2 separate regions of the Homo sapiens genome follow, and region 2 is linked to region 1. Evidence: promoter capture Hi-C in 16 types of primary human blood cells and fetal thymus (Javierre and others, 2016). All regions are on one chromosome and are shown on one strand. Each heading gives the region's core, a stretch centred on a gene start or on the middle of the fragment in contact. The rest is flanking DNA. Distances are from core to core; before and after follow the strand shown.

The links. The method cuts DNA at HindIII sites, captures the fragments that hold promoters and counts their contacts. A CHiCAGO score of 5 or more calls a contact.
Region 2: a contact is called between a fragment that was not itself captured here and the fragment with the promoter of CYP2U1 in region 1, in 1 of 17 cell types (fetal thymus). The highest score is 5.1, in fetal thymus.

The regions. Positions count from the first base shown.
Region 1 is chr4:107,929,780-107,933,709 of GRCh38, reverse strand. It overlaps CYP2U1 (cytochrome P450 family 2 subfamily U member 1), which reads right to left and starts at 2,161. Exons shown (of 5, transcript NM_183075.3): 1 at 1,577-2,161. The coding sequence starts at 2,066. CYP2U1-AS1 (CYP2U1 and SGMS2 antisense RNA 1) reads left to right here and starts at 1,591. Exons shown (of 7, transcript NR_125929.1): 1 at 1,591-1,739. The region is part of intron 1 of LOC107986298 (a long non-coding RNA gene); the gene reads left to right. LOC124900751 (a long non-coding RNA gene) reads left to right here and starts at 2,125. Exons shown (of 2, transcript XR_007058221.1): 1 at 2,125-2,737; 2 at 3,807-3,930. RefSeq lists enhancers at 1,424-1,493, 1,554-1,623, 2,284-2,791 and a silencer at 1,834-2,423. The HindIII fragment of the contact is 6,450 bases long and covers 1-3,440 here.
Region 2 is chr4:110,192,491-110,196,067 of GRCh38, reverse strand. All of the region lies in intron 1 of ELOVL6 (ELOVL fatty acid elongase 6), which reads left to right. Among named protein-coding and RNA genes, the nearest start is that of ELOVL6, 4.3 kb to the left of the region's middle. The HindIII fragment of the contact is 1,138 bases long and covers 1,106-2,243 here.

The DNA of each region.
Region 1 (3,930 bases), core at 912-3,411:
ACTACACCATTTTATATCAGGGACTTGAGCATCCTAGGGTTTTGTTATTCGCAGGAGGTCCTGGAAGGAATCCCCTACAGATAAGGAGGGATGATTGTACATATGATGGAATATTAGTCTTCAAAAGAAAATTTTCACATATGCCACAACATGGATGAACACTAAGACATTATCTAAGGATTTTAAATGAGTAGGGATAAAGATCATAATACTTTAAATGCCCCACTGAAAAACAAATGTCACAGTTCACACCTCATCCACTACATGCCTTCGTAATACTGCTTCTACCTAAAATTCTCTTCTGAGCTCATGGGTGCCTGGAGAAAACCTACCTGCTTTTCTTTTCTTTTTTAAAAATTGTGGTGAAATACATATAAAATTTACCATCTTAACCATTTTTAAGTGCACACCTTAATGGCATTAGGTACTGTCACACTGTTGTGCAACCATTGCTACCATCCATCCATAGAACTTTTTTCATCTTGCAAAACTGAGACTTTCTGTCCCTATGAATTTCACTACGCTAGGAGGCACCTCATATAAGTGGATCATACAATATTTGTCTTTTCCGTTTAAAATCCTGATGCAAAACTCTGGCTTTATCAGATTCTGAAAAGCCTAGATCTTTCTTTGCCATGTTATAGGGGCAGGAAATAGCATTCATTTAATAGATACTTGAACTCCTACTATGTTTCAGACAGCAATGACTCTGTCCTCCTAGATGTCAGAACAGTGGTGAAGACTGACATCCAGGCCCAAGGTCATAAAGTTATGTAGCGTCAGTTTTGAAAAGTGTAGTGAAGGAAAAGTGCTTGGGCAAGGGACCTGGTTCTAACAAGGGAGGCTACCCTACTTGCAGAGGCTGTGAGAAAAGGCTTCCCCAAGGAAAAGGCATTTAACACCTGACTGATGCGTAGGAGTGACTCAGAAAAGAAGTCAGAGACCTAAGCCAGCCAGTAAGACAAAGGGGGACGGTAGAGACAGGTTAGATTGGACATTTTATTGCAGCAGATAACACGTTTTCCAACCCCCAAAAATGTCCAATTTAGACTCCCATACGCAGGAATCAGAGGCTATGAACCAAAGCCGGAGATTTGGTAATAGGCTTCTTCTGTGTTTTCTGGACTTTTTATCTTATTGGAAATTATCTTCTTAAATTCTTACATTCGAAACCCACAAGGTAAAAAGAATATCCTTCCCTCTTTCTAACATGGGGGCCAAAGTTTCTCTCCGAGGTCACAGCTGGTGGAAGGGAAGGCTACTTTTGGAAAGATGGAACCTGGCTTGCCACCTTGTCCTTCCGCCATCCCTATTACTCTCCCTCAATCTCCGGATGACTTTTCTACTTATGATCTTGGAGTATGAGCAAGTCACGCGTCCGTCACTACTTGATGGGATCTTAAAGGCATCAGAAAGGAGAAGCGCCGCCACCACCATCACCTGTTAGTTCAGGATGCAGGTGTGAGGCAGCCTGGGGGCGCGGGCGGCCGGAAGGGGCACAGGAACTGCAGCCCCCACGCACCTGGAGACTCATCCGCGGCATCCGCGTACCCACAGCCCACGACCTCCCGCTCACCCTTCTCCTTGGTCACGATGGAGATGAGCGGCACCCGCGGGCGGTCGCTGAAGACCTCGGCCTGCTGCACCAGCGCCTCGCGCACGCTGTGGAAGTCGCTGAGGACCACCACCAGGTAGTGGCCGATAAAGAAGCTGAAGATGCTGCCGTACACGCGGGCTAGGTGAGCCAGGAGCACCTGCGGGCCTATGACCGAGGGATCAATCCCTGCGGCCCTGGTCCTGCTGCTCAGCCAGCTCCGCCGCCGGAGGAAGGGAGGCAGCAGCACGTGACCGAAGTTGCCCACCAGAGGCCAGGGCGTGGGCCCGGGCGGGATGCCCCGCGCCCGGCGCCTCCGCAGCCAGCTCCAGCCCAGCAGCGCTACGAGGCCGCATAGCAGCAGCGCGCCCCCGCTGGGGTCCAGCCGCAGCAGCCCCAGAGGCGCACGCAGGAGGCGCGCGGGCCAGGGCGGGTCCTCGGCCGGCGGCTGCGACGGCCCCGGAGACGACATGGTCCGGGCGCCGGCGGCCTCGGGTTCCCCTTGCTGCCTGGAGGAGACGCGCACGCAGCTGCCTGACCCGCGGCGCCAGTGTCCTGCTCTGCTCTGGAAGGTCGGGGGCGGGCAGGGGGTGTAGGAACGCCCCCGGATTGGCTGCGCCGCGCGCATTCTCCCCGCCGCCGCCACTCAGCGACGCCTGGGCGGAACCTGGAGGCGCGCCGGCTGCCTGGCGGAGGGGGTTGGCGGGCTAGCAGGCGGGGGACCTGAAGTTTGCCCCGAAGTCCGGTTACGACCCTTTGCAGGGTCGGGCTTGGCGGTGACTGTCCCTGAAACTGGGATGCTGGCAACACAACCTTGCGCTCTGATTGGCTGTTGGTTTCCCTTGTGTCATTCGTTTGTCATTATCACTCGTTTGTCAGTTGACAAACACAAACGCATGGTTATGAAGTGCATAAACCGTGTTAGGATCTGTACTGAGTGTGGGAAACTGGTGAACAGGCCCGTGAGATGGGTCGGCCTTAGCACCTGTGCCCTGAGCTGGGAGAATGGGGTCAACGCCCTATTCCTGCATGCTTCGGTGTAGTAGTGAAAAGACGGGGTTCCTTATCTAAACTGGGATTCGCAGCACCCTTTCCTCCACGCAGAGACAGCAGGATGCTGGGAAGCCGTGGAATGCAGAATCTGTGGGTGTCGGCTTGGCAGCCAACTCTGCGGAAGGGATGATGGCGGGAGTGGGGGGAGCGAGGGGCGGGCAGCGAGGCACGAGGAGTCACGTTCTGAGAGCTTGCCCTGGGCTAGAAAACTTATGCGGAGAGCGAAAGCTGTGTCCATTCCTGCGTGTGGCCTGGGTGCATTAGAAAATGTACTTAAATCCAGAAATAGCGAAACCAGAATTTGCTTGGTGGATTTAAGTAGCTAGAAATATGAAAAGAAGATAACCGGTTGAGGGAGGGGTGGCAATATTATTATTGGTGTTAGACAACACTTGAAAGGCTGAGGTTGAAATATTAGATATGAATTGTATAATACTTTAAAAACAAAGTATTACTTTATTTTATCTTCTCAGATAATGGCTTTCCTGATAAGGGCTTCCCTTTCAGTCTTGTTTAGGCCAAATCCTGTAGTTTCTGTTCAAGTTGGATTGAGCATAGAATTGTCTGTACTGGGCCATTTTTCTAGCCGTTTCATTTTTCTCCATACATTAAAAGTTTGAACACCACGCTGTACCTATAAAAATGTGATCAAAGAAAGCATAGTGAGTCCTCAAATAAATACATGATCCATTTTATTTTTCTATAAACAAGTGATGCCAGTAGGATATGTTAAATTTCAAGTCCACTCTGTTCTCATATTCTTTTTGACATGCTTTTCATGTTATTTTAAGCTTATGCACCCCAAACAAAAAAAAAAAACCTCCACACCTCTCATCTTCTATAATTAACCACTACTTGTGAGATTACTTTTCTCATTTTTTTTGAATTTTTGAATTAAGAGAAGTTTTTAAAAATTTAAACTACTTGTTTGCAGATACGATCTTCAACATGACATTCTGGATGTCATCTGATTCTAGGGCTTTGCTCTCTGAAACAGTAGCCACTATATACATCATCCCATACAAGCAATTTAAATTCATAAATGATTTTAAAATAGTTGAAGCTGTGACTAATTTAACAACTCCAACAGCCACCCTTTTATATTGTACAGGATGTAACTGCACGTGTAGTGTTTTCCTAAATCTCTCATTTTCACTAGGTTAATAGCTGTGCGGGGCAGATAGGAAATCTGGGCTGAATTCAGCCTCTCCTCACCACTATATGTTGAAGTCCTAACCCCCAGTGCCTCAGAATAAGACTGTATTTGGAGAAAGGGCCTTTAA
Region 2 (3,577 bases), core at 425-2,924, 2.3 Mb before region 1:
TCTCCATTCACTCAGTACTGAGCCAGACAGGTCTCAGCCCTCGTGGGACTGAAAATGACAAAAATGTGCCAACGTATCTACTCCTGTTAGGTTCTGACCACTGTTTCCTCCTAGTTCTTTATCTGTACCTTTCTTCTGGCAATATCCTTTACTGTTATATACATGGTTATTAACTTACAGACCATCAGCTCTTCAGGTTACGGTTCTTGTCATCCCACTCTTGATTCTGCAAAGCACCTAGCAGAGTGCTTTGCATAAGGCACATTCTTGAGAAAATGTCCAGTGAGTTGAAATGGTGATTGGTGCCCATTTTATTGCCAGCACTACTCGTTAATACCCGAAGGTTAACAGGCTAGAACTTGCATACCGTGGCAGAGTCACATCTTGGGATTTTTCCCTTCCTGGCTTCTGCTCTCTGTTGATGTTATGTTCTTAGATTGCTTATTGCAGTCAAAGAACCCTGCTGGCTGTTACCCCTCCCTTGCAACTCTTCCTGACCCTAATTGTCTTACTTTCATGTTTTTTTTTAAATGCCAGATTTTGTGCATTTCTCCCAATATCCCAGGGTGCCCAATTTTATCTCTCCTCCCTCCCCAAAAACTGTACAGCCAAAAAGACTTTAAACACTTTTTAAAATTTAATTTTATTAGCCGGGTGTGGTGGCTCCTGCCTGTAATCCCAGCACTTTGGGAGGCTGAGGTGGGTGGATTACCTGACGACAGGAGTTCGAGACCAGCCAGGCCAATATGGTGAAACCCCATCTCTACTAAAAATACAAAAAAATTAGCCGAGCGTGGTGGCGGGTGCCTGTAATCCCAGCTACTCGGGAGGTTGAGGCAGGAGAATTGCTTGAACCCGGGAGGTTCAAATTAAAGCTTTTAGTTTTTATTTTTAATAGAATCCAGCTAATGCAGGACAAAAAGTCTTGAACCAGATTTTCTTTTCACTCCCTTTTTAATAGGAGAAGGGAACTCCATAACCAAGGCTTAGACCCTCTTGAGGAGAGAGGAACTTGAGGAAACCATAAAATCTTACCTTTTTCAGACTCATTAACTTAAAATGGTTTGAAATAGCTTCTGGAGGAAAAACATGATATAGTGAAGCTTCTACTCTGTCTTTTGGGAATTTATGGTTGTCCTTATAAATCTCTTCTTAGTAACAGGCAAAACTTGTTAATTTAGAGAATTAAAACATCCTCTCTCAAAAGTGAACTACATTGGCTTTTGAAGAACTGTGAGAATGGCCAGGAGTAGTATTTTGCCAGTATGCTGCCTTTGCTAACTAGCATCATTTAAGAGGACCTAAAATAAGAATACTTTATTAAACATACGCTATAATCCATACTTACTAACCATAGCGCAAATTAATGTTAACATACCCTATAATCCATACTTACTAACCATAGCACGTGTTAATGGAATGGGGCCCGACTTTTGGAGTAGCATTTGTATAAACCCTAAAGGGTTCAACTGAGGCTAGTTTTCAAGTTTATTGCTGCTTTAATGAATCATTAACCTCATACTCATTGGCCTAGCCATGAAAGTAAATACTGCAGACTTTTTTTACTTTGCTAGCAAAAAGTTTCATATATAATAGGTTAGAATAGCAATTGAAATGCAAAGTAATAAGTGTATTCCCTTGTAGAATCATCCTGGGCCTCATCTTGAAACTACATGTCCAGTGAAAAATATCCTGTCTGGTTATATTATCTGGTCAATGAGAGTTTATTACATGAGGTAGAGAAAAATGTCTGCTCATAGGTCCAAATAGGAGTTTTGAATTCTAATTTTCACTGAAAAGTCCTTGCAATTTTACAACATTGAAAATAGAGACATTTTGCTCTTTTATGAGATGTCTGGCCTTTACCTGTTTTTCTCACTAAGAGCTGACTTAAGTTGGAAGTGCTGCTAGCCAGGGAGCAAAATCACCTGGTGATTGCTAAGGCGACATATAATTCATTGAGTGAGAAGGGAAGCTGGGCTCTCTCTGCCTTCTCTTTCAGCAGCCTGCCAGGTTTGTGCTAACAGCAGTGGATGCTAGTTGCTCCAGTTGTAATTGTCTAGCCAATGATGATTATCTTCTGATGTCGGCTGACACGGTGCCCACCAATAGGAAAGCAGGAGGCCTGTGCTGACTGCTGTAACATTATGTATGTGAGGTGACGTCTTCAAAGGGCTTGCCTAGAACTTCATGAAACCCTCCCCCTCTCCTGGCATTCTCCACACATCCAGCCTTTCAAAGCTTTATATATTTTTCTGACTTTTCTCCCCACTCACTCCCTTGGTGGTGTAAAAGGGTTTACTTGTTTTAACATTTTGTATTCTGTATTATAGAGTCTATAAGATAGTATAGGAATTTTAAGAATTAAATGCTGTTCAGCTGAGGAAGCCTTTTTATTCACAAATTTGTTTTTACCAAAGGTAAAAATGGAGTGAAACATTTTATTTTATTTTGTTTTATTTTTGAGACAGGGTCTCACTCTGTTGCCCAGGCTGGAGTGCAGTGGCACAATCTTGGCTCACTGCAACCTCTGCCTCCGGGTTCCAGTGATTCTTATGTCTCAACCTCCCAAGCAGCTGGGATTACAGGTGCCTGCCATGACACCAAGCTAATTTTTGTATTTTTAGTAGAGATGGGAATTCACCGTGTTGGTCAGGTTGGTCTTGAACTCCTGACCTCAAGTAATCCGCCCACCTCGGCCTCCGAAAGTGCTGAGATAACAGGCTTGAGCCACTGCAACCGGCCGTGAAACATTTTAAAAGGAGTTGTACATCTATATCTTTTTTGTAGGTGAAGTTTGGAAAGTAACACGATGTACAATTTCATGATTAAAGAACATAAAAAGCACTAAAAACCTGTGTTAGCATTTAACTCAAATATAGCAGCATAAAAAATATAGCAGCATAATGTTAATGAAACTGTTCAAATGCAGACATAGTATTTGGCTGTTGTTTTTCATTTAGTGAGGATTGCTTTGAATTGCTTCCTGAAGTCTTCCTTGCAACCTTCTACATTCATTTGTAAGAAAAATGGCTGGAAAACAGTGCATCTGTGACTATGGAACAGAGTAGGCCAGAGTTTCATTTCATCATTAACATTGCAGCAACAAATTTGGTCAGCTCTGTAGGAATATAGTGTGTCTATATTGTACTCATGTCACTTGCTGTTTATTTTGAGGTATCACAGTTCATATTGATTTAGGATTAAAACTTGTGTGAGGATCATAACATGACATTCAATAATTTTTAGAAAGCACTGGGATGTAGGCATATGTACTAGGTTAAGAGTGAGAAGAATGAGAAAATACATAGAGAAAAAACGTGTAATCTGTGTGGGGTCCTAGAAAATAATGTAAAGTTGTGCTGGAGCTTTGATATGAACTTTCATGTATCTTTTAATAAATTATAAATATTCATGCAATTCTTGTTTAGGATTCCAAAGGATGAAAGCCAGCTTAATGCAAAATATTTTATGATTATATTATCCATCTGTGTATTTGTACTAGTTATAATTAGTGCTTAAAATTTTTTCATGAAGTCTTTTTCACATTGGAAGTAAAATTTTGTGATCTTCAGAG